4 separate regions of the Homo sapiens genome follow, and regions 1, 2 and 3 are each linked to region 4. Evidence: promoter capture Hi-C in 16 types of primary human blood cells and fetal thymus (Javierre and others, 2016). All regions are on one chromosome and are shown on one strand. The core of a region is centred on a gene start or on the middle of the fragment in contact, and the rest is flanking DNA. Distances in the headings are between cores, read along the strand shown. Region 1 has its middle 6.7 kb from the start of GTPBP8. Region 2 overlaps GTPBP8 (GTP binding protein 8). Region 3 overlaps CFAP44 (cilia and flagella associated protein 44). Region 4 holds the start of SLC9C1 (solute carrier family 9 member C1).

Region 1 (2,833 bases), core at 84-2,583, 690 kb before region 4:
GCCTACTGCACTGACAGATTTCTCTAAAGAGATCTGGAGATTAACCATCAGACAGTAATCATAGGTAGGAGGTGAGTTTGTAGAGTGATTTGGATTCTGGAGGAGGAGTAAAGGTTCACTTCTTTCAAGGTTGTTTTTATCAATAGAGGGAGAAATGATTGCTTTAAGTGGTCTTAATTTTTTTCATTCGTAATTTTGCATTTGGCTCTGTGTCATACAAGTGCTATTAAAATAATTTGGAACACTATTTACCATATTCAGGTTGTGTTTTTATATCAGTAACAAGCTCAGAGGGTTTTTTTAAAATTGTTTTTGGAAAATAGTATGGATTTTGCTGTTCTGACTGATTAATTCGTTAACATTTTAATTCTTGTTGTGTGTTAAGCAAGGTTATTTTAGTGGGCAAGTTTACTTTGTAGTACACATCTAGTTTATATCTTGTTGCCTTGTTGGAAGTGAATGGAATGTTCTCTAACACCCTGAGGAGATGAGGCAACATTCACAGGCAGATATATTGATGTATATTCAAATTTTTAACTTATTCATAGGTAGAGTGTGTCAGGTGTTCCCAAGACTAGCTCCCAAATGAGGCGAGCAAGGATGCACAGAACTCAGCATATAGTTGTACTTATGCCTATAATTTACAACAACAAAAGAATACAAAGCAAGCCTGGCAAGGGGAAAAGGCACTCAAAGTGAAGTTTGGAGGAAGCCAGGCACAAGCTTCTAATTGTCCCCTAAGTTGCACAGGATGCAATTAATTCTGCCAGCAATGAGTTTTAACAACATGTGTGAAATGTTGTCTACTAGCAAAGCTCACCTGAGTCTAGGAGTCCAGGGTTTTTACCGAGCGCTGTTCATATAGGCATCTAGTGCCTGTGTGACTGACTATAGTCACTGAAAGTTCAGATTTGCAGAAGGAAAGCAGCATCAGTATGTACCACTTGTTTGTTCAAATAGTTTAGATACAGTGAGCCACTCATGAATGGAAAGTTGGCTCTGTGCCATGCAAGGAAACTGTTTACCAGTCAAGTTCTCAAATGTCAGCCCAGTGCCAATCTTGTAAACAAATCTTTCTAAGGGTAGCAGCCACAGGCCTGCTATATGAACTGTTTTCTGCACATAGATTAAAAGATAAAAACATTTAAAAATGAGAAGTTTCTCACCTGCACTTATTGTGAGATTGTATACTTGTAGGAAAGATGTATTCCAGGTTCTGCTCTAAATACAAGTGATTTCTCTGGAGATTTTTGAGAAAAGTGGGACAGACTTTCTCTAGTCATTTTAATAGGACATGGCAAAACTAGAATTCTTCCTGTGGAAGGAGGTTATAATCAAAGCTGCTGTCTCAGCCACCTGTAATAAAGTATGGGGCCTCTGGAGAGGAGTGCAATGAATTGGTGATTCAACTGGTATGAACATCAGGTTTAGCTGGAGTTGAGTGCAGCAATGTCCTTGAACATTCCCTCCAACCTCCTTACCCATCCTCCTCTAGGGGCTGGACAATCAGATTCAAACAATGTTTTGTGATTACTCTCTAGAAAGGAATAATGCCTGGTGTAGTGGTACTAGGTGGTTACCTAATAGGCAGGATCTCATGGGTGGCAGGCGCACGAGTGGTTGAGCCCAGAATGCTGTGATATATCTCTCTTCTGCCTAGACTAGTGCAAGTCAGAACCTAGCCTTTCACTCCTCTCTCTAGGTATCTGTTATTTACCAAGATAGCTGATTTTTTTTAAAAGATAGCTGATTTTACCATAATAGTATAATCTCACGAACTCACATTATGAACCCACAAGCAATAGAAGAAAAAGTAAGAAAAAGATAATTCATTCTAGAAGTAATCAGAATGAATGGACTTGGTGGGCAAAGAATTTAAATAAAAACAGAAAATATCCTCAGAGATAAGGGAATATATGGCAAACATGAAACAGGAAGCTTCTAAGAAGTACCAGTTGAACATATTAGATATGAATTATATTATTGTGAAGTAAATTTCTCAATGGATGTGTTTAATAGTTGAATAATATTATCAACTCAAAGAACAAAATAGCAGGATAATTAGATTGGAGAATATTTCAATAAATATTAGGAAGGGATAAAAAATATAAAGAATTTAAAAGTTAAGAGCTGCGAAGGTGAAAAGAAGAAATTTAAATAACAGTATTGTAAGAGTTGGGCATGGTGGCTTGGTCCTGTAATCCCAGCACTTTGGGAGGCCGAGGTGGGCAGATCGATTTGAGGCCAGGAGTAGGAGACCAGCCTGGCTAACATGATGAAACCCCTTTCTCTACTGTAAATGCAAAAAATTAGCCAGGTATGGTGGTGCACGCCCACAATCCCAACTACTTGGGAGGCTGAGGCATGAGAATTTCTTGAGCCTGAGTGGCAGAGATTGCAGTGAGCTGAGATTACACCACTGCACTCCAGCCTGGGTGAGAGAGCAAAACTCTGTCTCAAAAAACAAAACAACACAAAACAAAAGCAAACCAAACAATATTATAGGAGTACTTGAAAAAAATGAAGTAAAAGGAGGAAATTTGCTGAAAATTTCCAGAATTAAAGATACTTTGACTAGGAAGCAGAGCACTACTTCTTACAGGTTTCATTGCTTTATCATATTTAGCCAAGTAAAAGATAGAAATATTAAATCAAAAAAGATCTTATCTACTTCCTTTTCTCAATACAGAACATTCAACATTCAAACGTTTTCAGCAGTTTCATATTTCCTACTTCTTCTTTTCCCAAGGTGAGATAATCATAACAGTATTCTTTAGAAAATTCCCCTACACACATTTTGAAATCACATTAAATCACTCCAAGTTATTGGTAG
Region 2 (2,943 bases), core at 296-2,795, 710 kb before region 4:
GGCCTTCATACTAAAGTCACTGCTGTGGCAACCAGTTTCAAGCAGGGCTGAACCTTGCCTCTTGCTCTGGGGATGTCTCACTTCCTGCCCCTGGGCTTCTCACCAGCTACAGGAACTGCCTAGCACTTGGGTATGTACAACCTGGAAGAGGTGTGGGGCCACCCCATCCCCTCCTCAAAGAAATTCACAGGCACAGTATGAGGCTAAAGTAACTTCCATCTTGGATGCTAATCTACCATGTTGACTTCTGATAACCAGTTCCTGGAATGCCCTCTAAGATTTCTACTTTTATCTATTAAAAGAACACACACACACACACACACTGTAAATCCTGGCCTTAAGCAAGTTATAGGCTAAGTTGTAAACAGCATTCTTGCCTTTCCCTGAGGAGGTGACTTCAGTGTCTCACATGTTCCTTCATGTACCCCCTTTTCTCTATGGCATATAAGCCCTGGGTCGGGGGGTAACTGTGGGGATCACTGCCTGAGACATGGCTTCTGTGCATAAGTCCCTATTAAATGTTTCTTTCTGACAAACTGGATTTGTTGGCCTCTTTCTTTGGCATCTCAGCACTCTCAGCCTTTGGGGGTAGGTTGCATAGACCTGGTCACTATACAACACATATTTCCTAGGACTTGTCACAAGTTCCCTCAAGATCTAGCACTAGTGCCTATGTTTTGGCTAACTCAATGAATATGTTGTTAATAGGCTTGTCTGTCTTGTTTCATTTTGCCACTGTTCCCTGGGATCACTTCCCAAATTTACATATGTAAGCTTTTGGCTCAGGCTCTGCTTATAGGAGAACCAAGGATAAATCAAAGCAGTGAAGTAACACTGGCAGACAAAAAGATGACTTCTAAGATAATTCTTTTGTTACTATATATTTTATGAATGTCTATATTAAAAAATCTTTTTTTTGGCTGAAAACATTCCTGCTTAGATTAGACCAATTCTGTCAACTATAAAACTGACAATATATTCAGATTGTTTTCTAAAGAAAAGCCACGAAGTTGGTTTATAGCTTTAATTTGTTATCCAGCAATACAGCTATAACCTTTTAATATTAAGCTTCACTTTGAAAACCTAAGCCACTTACATGAATAGGTTAGTGGCACCTTCACAAAAATCTTCTCTATTAACTTTAGTTCAAAGGCTTTATTTTTCCATTCTGAATCTTAAATGTAGCAGTCTAAACTGTCCCATCAGCTTTTTTCTCTTGCCCTTTACAAATTAGTTTTCTCACTTAAAGCTATTTTTGTTTTTTGCTTTTTCACTAGTGAAAATGTTACTTCCCCCATGAAAGGACATTTCTTGTAATAAATCTACCTGTGAATTTTGCTATATTTCTTTGTTGGTTTGGCTTTACAAATATGTAGCTGTCTTCTCACATGTTACCTGCTGTAAAACCATTCATTTGAATCTTAATAGCTTTCACGTTTACAGTAACAAATGAATTTCCGAGAAATCAAGTAAGTTGCCCAAGATCCAACATATATAATAAACATCAGAACTAGAACTTGAATTCTGTTCTTTCGGTTGTTTCCAACATGGACTAACACATTTTATCAAGAATGTTTTCAATATTCAAATAAGGACTCAAAAAAATAGGCTTACATAGTAACTTTTATCCATCAACTTACCTATCGATGCTTAACAGAAAAGCAGCCCCCTTTTACCTAGCCCATTTTAACATTTAAAAAAAAAATACCCATAGTAGACATATTCTTTAAAAGACAAAAGCCCAATAAAACGTCAAACCCTTCTGTACATAGTTGTAACAGGTTTTCATTTTATGGATGTGCTCTTGTCAGTTTGTTAAAATAGGGGAATCAGCTAGTAGCTGTTCTAATGAACACCATAATTCAATAACTTACAAACTTTTTTCACCTCAGGCACAAATTCTTGTTTCGAGAAGGCACAGGTTTTAAAGCTCAAGTGATCCTCCTGAAGTTACAGATGCACAACATTTAAAACAATGTTGAAATTCTTCTAGGTATTTAACTCCAGTTAGCATAAAGCTTTTTTTTTTTTTTTTGAATCTTCAGCTAAACCGGGAACCATTAGTCAAGACTTCCTGTTACACTGGCTATAAAGCATCTCAACAGGTGGATTCCAGAAAAGGTCACAGCACTGTGAAAAGAAAAGAGAAATAATTTTCTTCCTTTCCTCAGATATAACATCTGAATTCATCAACTTAAAAAAATTTACAAATTCTTATGATTTCATATATGAAAGCAGAACATCTTTTAATGTGTTCTAGCTTTCTTCTCTTCCCCCAGCCGCGTCTTGTAGTATTCTAAAATCTGATGATCAATATTATCTGATCCATTTCCTTCATGATTCCAAAAATTTCACTATATCTTCTATTTTGCTTTGTTTTCCAGAATAAGTCTTGATCTCTTTAGTTTGTTCTTTTTGTAATAAATATTCAATTACCTTGTTAGACTTTTTAGGTTTTAAAAAAATTACCATCACCATTATTGTACATATTATTTATCTATCTGTCTTCCTATATCCATCTGTGCGTCCGTCTGTCCGTCCGTATGGAGATCAGCCAAAATGTTTCTCAGGTATGGATATACTACAGTTTTTTTTGGTGGTGGTGGTGGTTTTTGAGACAGAGTCTCACTCTGTCGCCCAGGCTGGAGTGCAATGGCGTGATCTTGGCTCACTGCAACCTCTGCCTCCCGAGCAGCTGGGATTACAGGCATGTGCCACCACATCTGGCTAATTTTTTTTTTTATTTTAATTTTTCTAGAGATGGGGTTTCACCATGTTGACCAGGCTGGTTTTGGACTCCCGACCTCAGGTGATCTGCCCACCTCGGCCTCCCAAAAATGCTAGGATCACAGGCATGAGCCATGGCACCTGGCCTTCAAATGTCTCTAGTTTTAAGTGACACTTTAAGAAACACTGATAATATTACAGGTTTTCAGTACATAA
Region 3 (2,743 bases), core at 89-2,588, 1.0 Mb before region 4:
AGGCTTTTCTTTAAAGATTTCTGCAACTCCGTCAGAATTCTAAGTTTTCCCCATAGTTTCTCATGTCCCCTGCCATTTTCTTTCAGGTTTTACTTGGGCCATTTGCTGGTTTTGATATAGATGAGGAGATAATGAAATAGATTTACTAGAGATCATCTTTAACAATCACCTTTGATTATGCATAACATTTTAAACTAATTGAAGAGTATCCTTTTGGTTTGGGGGTAAGTGCTCATTGAAGTTCATGGCTATAACCATTGCAGGATAATCTCACTGACATTTGGAATCCTGTTAGTAACAGAGCATAGCTCTTTAGATTAAGAGCTCTGTATTAACGAGCTACTCATTGAGGCTGTTCCAGGATAAGCTGGTCACTGAGAAGGGCGGGTGAAGAAAGGAACATTGCATAAATGTAGAAGGGAACTCAGCAATGCCAAGTCTTCCTCACCTGTGATTAGCCTGCTAATGTGCCCCCCAAAATTACAGACAGGTCTTGCTTTCTTTGTACATCAGCATATTCTTAGAGGTGGCCACTTGGCCTATTGTCTTCCTAAGATTCCTTCATATTCCTATTTAAGAGGTCAGAATACCTTATTGTTTGCACTTGTCACCATTAATTTCTGATGTAGTCACTTCTCTACTGGAGAGCACCCACTTTTTTTTTTAAATCACTTTCTGTGTTGTATATCCTAAGCCATGTGTGCCTTTCAAGTATTTTTAAAAATATGCTAGTCATAGCCCTGAGTGTCTTATTTATTGCGGTAAAAAATTACCCCCAAACTTAGCTTGAAACAACAAACTTGTGATCTCACCCAGGAGTGAGAGGGTTTCTGAGGTCCAGGAATCTGGGGACAGCTTGGCCGGGTGTTCTGGCTCAGGGTCTTTCGTGGAGTTGCAGTCACACTAGGAGCTGGGGCTGCAGCCATCTGAAGCTTGGCTGGAGCTGGAGGGGCTATTAGCAAATTCACTCCCTTGGCCATTAGGCAGGGCTTCAGTTCCTCGCCATGTGGGCCTCTCCATAGGGCCGCTTGGGATATGACTTCTCCCAGAGCAAGTGATCCAAGAGTGAGGGAGACAGCAAGAGAGAATGATGTATACAAGAGCCACAGTCTTTTACAGCCCAAGCTCAGAAGTGACATAGCGTCACTATTGTCATATGGGTCACAGGCTGACCCTGTGTGATGTGGGAGGGGACTGAACAGGGTGTGAATGCCAGGTGGGGGTCACCGGGGCCTTCGTGGGAGCTGGCAGCCACAAGAAGCAGCTGCCTGGAGAGAGTGGCTGGTCTCTGAGAAAGGTCTTGAGGCGATACCATCCCCTTGGTAATTGTAGAGAATCAGGAGAAGTTACGTTATCTTCCTGGGCCTCATTTTATTATCTGACAAATGAAGGATTGGTAGAATGGGTTCCTTCCCATTCTGAGATTCTGATTCTGATTGCAGCAAGAATGGACCTACAGTCTACAGAAGAGCCACATCAGGACTTGCTGTGCATTTCAACTGAGAGGAAAGCTAATCGGGATAATTATTCCCAAACTGAGCTGGACTAAATCACTAGTTAATTCTACAATATTCAGGGCTTCATTCCGCATGTTTGGGAATTGACGACAGTTAACACTGAATTACTTTATTTTGAATTGGACAAAATATGTTGATAGCTTTAGGTTCATTTCAACTTGATTCCAGGCTTAGTCTTAAATCTGTAGTTAAGTTAGAGCATCTGAGTCTTTGGGAAGTTAAGCTTCAAACACAAGTAGACCAGCAGGGTGTGGCATGGGCAGGGTGGCTGGGAAGCTATCCTGCTCCTGGCACACTTCCCTGCCTTCTGCTGTGCTCCCAGAGGAGCAGCCTCACCTCTGAGGGTAAGGCCAAAAATCAGCCTACACTGAGTTACTTGTGGGTCAATTGTTCATATAACTTGGCTCTTCTGAACTGTCATCCATAGTATCACCGATGATCAATCTCAGCATTGGAAGAAAAAGAAACCACAGAGTCCAGCCCCTCTGTCACAACTTCAGAGTAAAGGAGTTGCTCATGCCTGCCAGCCAGCCTGTCCCACCACAGCGGGCTCCCCAGCTTAGGGAGGTCTGTGAGCCATGTGCTAAATTTCTCTTTAGAGCTAAATCCATTGAGTGCTATGATTCCAGTGCTGTGCAGAAAGCAGATGTTTCACCTATCACTTCAGAAAAGTTCACCAGACTTCATTTTGACAGCTACCTTAGATCATCAAGGAGAAAAAGGAAAAAATGTAAAAACCAGTGGGGCTAGAAGGTGAGTTACAGCTCAGATTGGGGGGCCTCTGGATAGCAAAGCAATGACTGAGAGCGTCAGCCCTACCCACCCCAGAAGTGAGCTCTGGGCCGTGATGCCAGGTTGTCTGAAATCACAGTATCTTATTTTTTCTCTTCTCTTCCCTGCTCTGCTTCTCATTTCCTAACATTTACCTGTTCCTTACAGTCCTTCCTTTTAAATAATATTTTTAAAATACTGCTTTCCTGAAAACCATGCTGCACTTCCACATGAAGTTCTCTCTGACGTTGAGCTTGATGGAAAAAGGATGCAGAAGTCAGGAATAGCAGGTGCTATACTTATTTTGGCCAGCAGAGGATGCACTTGCCCTAAACAGTCAGAGTGACTCTTCCCTAGGACCCTGTTTATCAAATTCTTCATGTTTAAAAGCCAGGGTCTGGCCCCCCACTTAACGAGATTGTCTCAAGTGGCATTTCATCTGTAACTCAATTTTA
Region 4 (2,700 bases), core at 175-2,674:
ATACATAATGTGGCAAATATTAGCTTTGCAACTTAATTAATTTTTAAATATATATCCACACATGAACCACAACCCACACACAGATATGTGGCATGTATTTCCAACAATGAGAATCCTTTTTTTTTTTTTTTGAAACGGTGTCTCACCCTGTCTCCCAGGCTGGAGTGCAGTGGCGCAATCTCGGCTCACTGCAACCTCCATCTCCCGGGTTCAAGTGATTCTCCTTTCTTAGCCTCCCGGAGCTAGGACTATAGGCGCCTGCCACCATGCCCGGCTAATTTTTGTATTTTTAGTAGAGACGGGGTTTCACCTTGTTGGTCAGGCTGGTCTCGAACTCCTGACCTCAGGTGATCCACCTGCCTCGGCCTCCCAAAGTGCTGGGATTACAGGCATGAGCCACTGCACCTGGCCGAGAATAGATTTTTTAAAGACCCAAGAAAAGGGGCAGCCCAGCAAGACAGAAAATTTCACCAGTAACTGCTCTACTTTAACCAAACACCACAGAAAAGTGTTCACCCACTCCCTGTACCCACATACCAGCAAAGACTGAGTAGGAAGCTTAAACTTCACCCATACCATACAAGATGCCAGAACCCTGCCTGTTTCCCCACCCCAACCAGAGCAGTATCAGAAAAGGCCTTGTGGGAGCTGGAACTTCCATAACAACCAGGCCATAAAGATGCACCCCATGCCTCAGTTGGAGACCATGTAGGGAGCCTGGACTTCTGCTCCAACCCAGCCAAACAAGTTGCCTCCTGCCTTCTTCATCAGGGTAGTATCAGAGGAGGCCAAATGAAGAGTTGGGAATTTTACCACCATTCACTTATAAACGTGTGGGTCGGGAGAAAGAGATGAAACACAGAGAACAAAACATTAAATACAATTTTAAATAACTTTAAGATATTTTATGAGAGTAGGAATGTGAAAAGTTGGCTCTATAGTAATAACTAAGTAATTTCAATTAAAATATTTTTTACATATTATGTTTAGAAAAAACAAATGAGTATATCATTATTCCTGAAAATTTCCTCACATATAACCCAGAGTGAAAGTTCACCTTGTCATCTTGATTTCATTCTCTTACATGCCCACAATATCCATTCACTTTTTCCCTAACCCAGCAACCTGCGTCCTCATATCTCTACCACACTATCTTATCCAGGAAACTTCCTTTTACTAGAATTCTGGGAAAGCAGTGTCCAACAGCTCTTTGTCAGAAATCCACTGTCCCAAAGTCTTAAATTAACACAATGGCGCAATTTCTGTAGGTTCATTTTCACCCCTTATTTGTTTATTTTTAAAAAATAAAACAAAGCCTTAAGCCGTCAAATGCCTGAGATATACAGGAGCAATGACGTTGCATTTCATCAGCCAATCAAGTAAGAGATGATGGGCCTGAAGCTAACCGGTGCAGACTAGGGGCGAGTTTGGAGCAAGTAACTGTCAGTGAGGTTGCAGTTGGTCTGGGCTGTTTGGCTGTGAGCGAAATAGCTGCCCCCCACTTCTCACTTGCACACCACGGGATACTCCTCCTGAGGCTCCGGATGGTGAGCTCTCCAGTCTCTAGTTTCCTTTTCTGGAAGTTGACCTTTCCTACTGGTACTTTCTCTCTCAGTCTCGCCTCCTAGATGAACAAAGGCTCCCACTGTTTTCCTGCTAGAGATTCAGCCACTCCCTCTTGGCGCTTCTGCCTTTCTTGTGGCAGACCATGGAACACTTTCCCAAAGATCAGCTAGCTTCTCGGTTTGAACTTCTACCCCTTAGCTGCTTCCCCTCCTCCATTATGCTTTTTACATCAACTCTTTGTGAACTATCCAGTGGCATGTGTTCCCTTTGCGTTACTGAAACTGAAAAGTCCAGCCCTAGGGGAAAGCTCACTGGTTCAGGGAATCGCCTCAGGTGTGTGGAGCTGATCTTGAGCTGGAGGAAGGGCTCATTCTGAGTGGAGGGGCATTAGGAGGGCAATAGCCCACCCACCTTCAGAGTCAGTAAGATGTCTGCGTTGTGTGGTAGGAGAGTTTACTAAGGAGACAATCCAGCCTCTGGTATCAATATAAAATAAACCATTAAGCATGAGCTTTGTAGCTGTGAAGATTACTGAGATCCCACAGTGCCCTCTTCAGGATGCTTTCTTCACCTAATTCTTGCAAAACGTTCCAATCTGAAGGAAGAAGACTGTTTCCATGTTCAGTAACATGGTAAATTAGTGTGACTTACGGTTCATGAGACAAAATTTCTCAATGCTGGCTGACTGACAAGGACAAATTCATGTCATTTTTGAGAGGGCAGTCATTAATTTCCTCCACACACAAAGAGAATTGAGATATTAGCTAACATGAGAGATATATATATATATATATATTTGAAATAGAGTCTCACTCTGTCACCCAAGCTGGAGTGCAGTGGCACAATCTAGGCTCACTGCAATCTCTGCCTCTTCAATTGATTCTCCTGTCTCAGCCTCCCAAGTAGTTGGGATTACAGGCATGTGCCACCACACCTGGCTAATTTTTTTTTTTTTTTTTTTGTATTTTTAGTAGAGACAGTTTCACTATTTTGGCCAGGCTAGTCTCGAACTCCTGATCTCAAGTGATCCACCCGCCTAGGCCTCCCAAAGTGCTGGGATTACAGGCGTGAGCCACTGTGCTCAGTCAACTAACTTATTGTTAAATTAATGCAGAGGACCTATGTGATAAACCA

Evidence for each region. Contacts are between HindIII fragments. The CHiCAGO score rates a contact against its expected background, and 5 or more counts as called.
Region 1: a contact is called between a fragment that was not itself captured here and the fragment with the promoter of SLC9C1 in region 4, in 2 of 17 cell types (total B cells and naive B cells). The highest score is 6.0, in total B cells.
Region 2: a fragment that was not itself captured here is called in contact with the fragment with the promoter of SLC9C1 in region 4 in 1 of 17 cell types (naive B cells); the score reaches 5.0 in naive B cells.
Region 3: a fragment that was not itself captured here is called in contact with the fragment with the promoter of SLC9C1 in region 4 in 1 of 17 cell types (total B cells); the score reaches 6.5 in total B cells.

The regions. Positions count from the first base shown.
Region 1 is chr3:112,982,831-112,985,663 of GRCh38, reverse strand. No RefSeq gene overlaps it. Among named protein-coding and RNA genes, the nearest start is that of GTPBP8, 6.7 kb to the left of the region's middle. The HindIII fragment of the contact is 1,215 bases long and covers 726-1,940 here.
Region 2 is chr3:113,000,037-113,002,979 of GRCh38, reverse strand. GTPBP8 (GTP binding protein 8) reads right to left here. Exons shown (of 6, transcript NM_014170.4): 6 at 1,011-2,130. The coding sequence ends at 2,061. RMP64 (ribonuclease MRP subunit p64) reads left to right here. Exons shown (of 9, transcript NM_015412.4): 9 at 1-536. Among named protein-coding and RNA genes, the nearest start is that of GTPBP8, 11 kb to the right of the region's middle. The HindIII fragment of the contact is 950 bases long and covers 1,071-2,020 here.
Region 3 is chr3:113,288,112-113,290,854 of GRCh38, reverse strand. It overlaps CFAP44 (cilia and flagella associated protein 44), which reads left to right. Exons shown (of 35, transcript NM_001164496.2): 35 at 1-2,743. SPICE1-CFAP44 (SPICE1-CFAP44 readthrough (NMD candidate)) reads left to right here. Exons shown (of 52, transcript NR_183050.1): 52 at 1-2,743. Among named protein-coding and RNA genes, the nearest start is that of BOC, 78 kb to the right of the region's middle. The HindIII fragment of the contact is 808 bases long and covers 935-1,742 here.
Region 4 is chr3:112,292,940-112,295,639 of GRCh38, reverse strand. SLC9C1 (solute carrier family 9 member C1) reads left to right here and starts at 1,424. Exons shown (of 29, transcript NM_183061.3): 1 at 1,424-1,547. The HindIII fragment of the contact is 3,564 bases long and covers 561-2,700 here.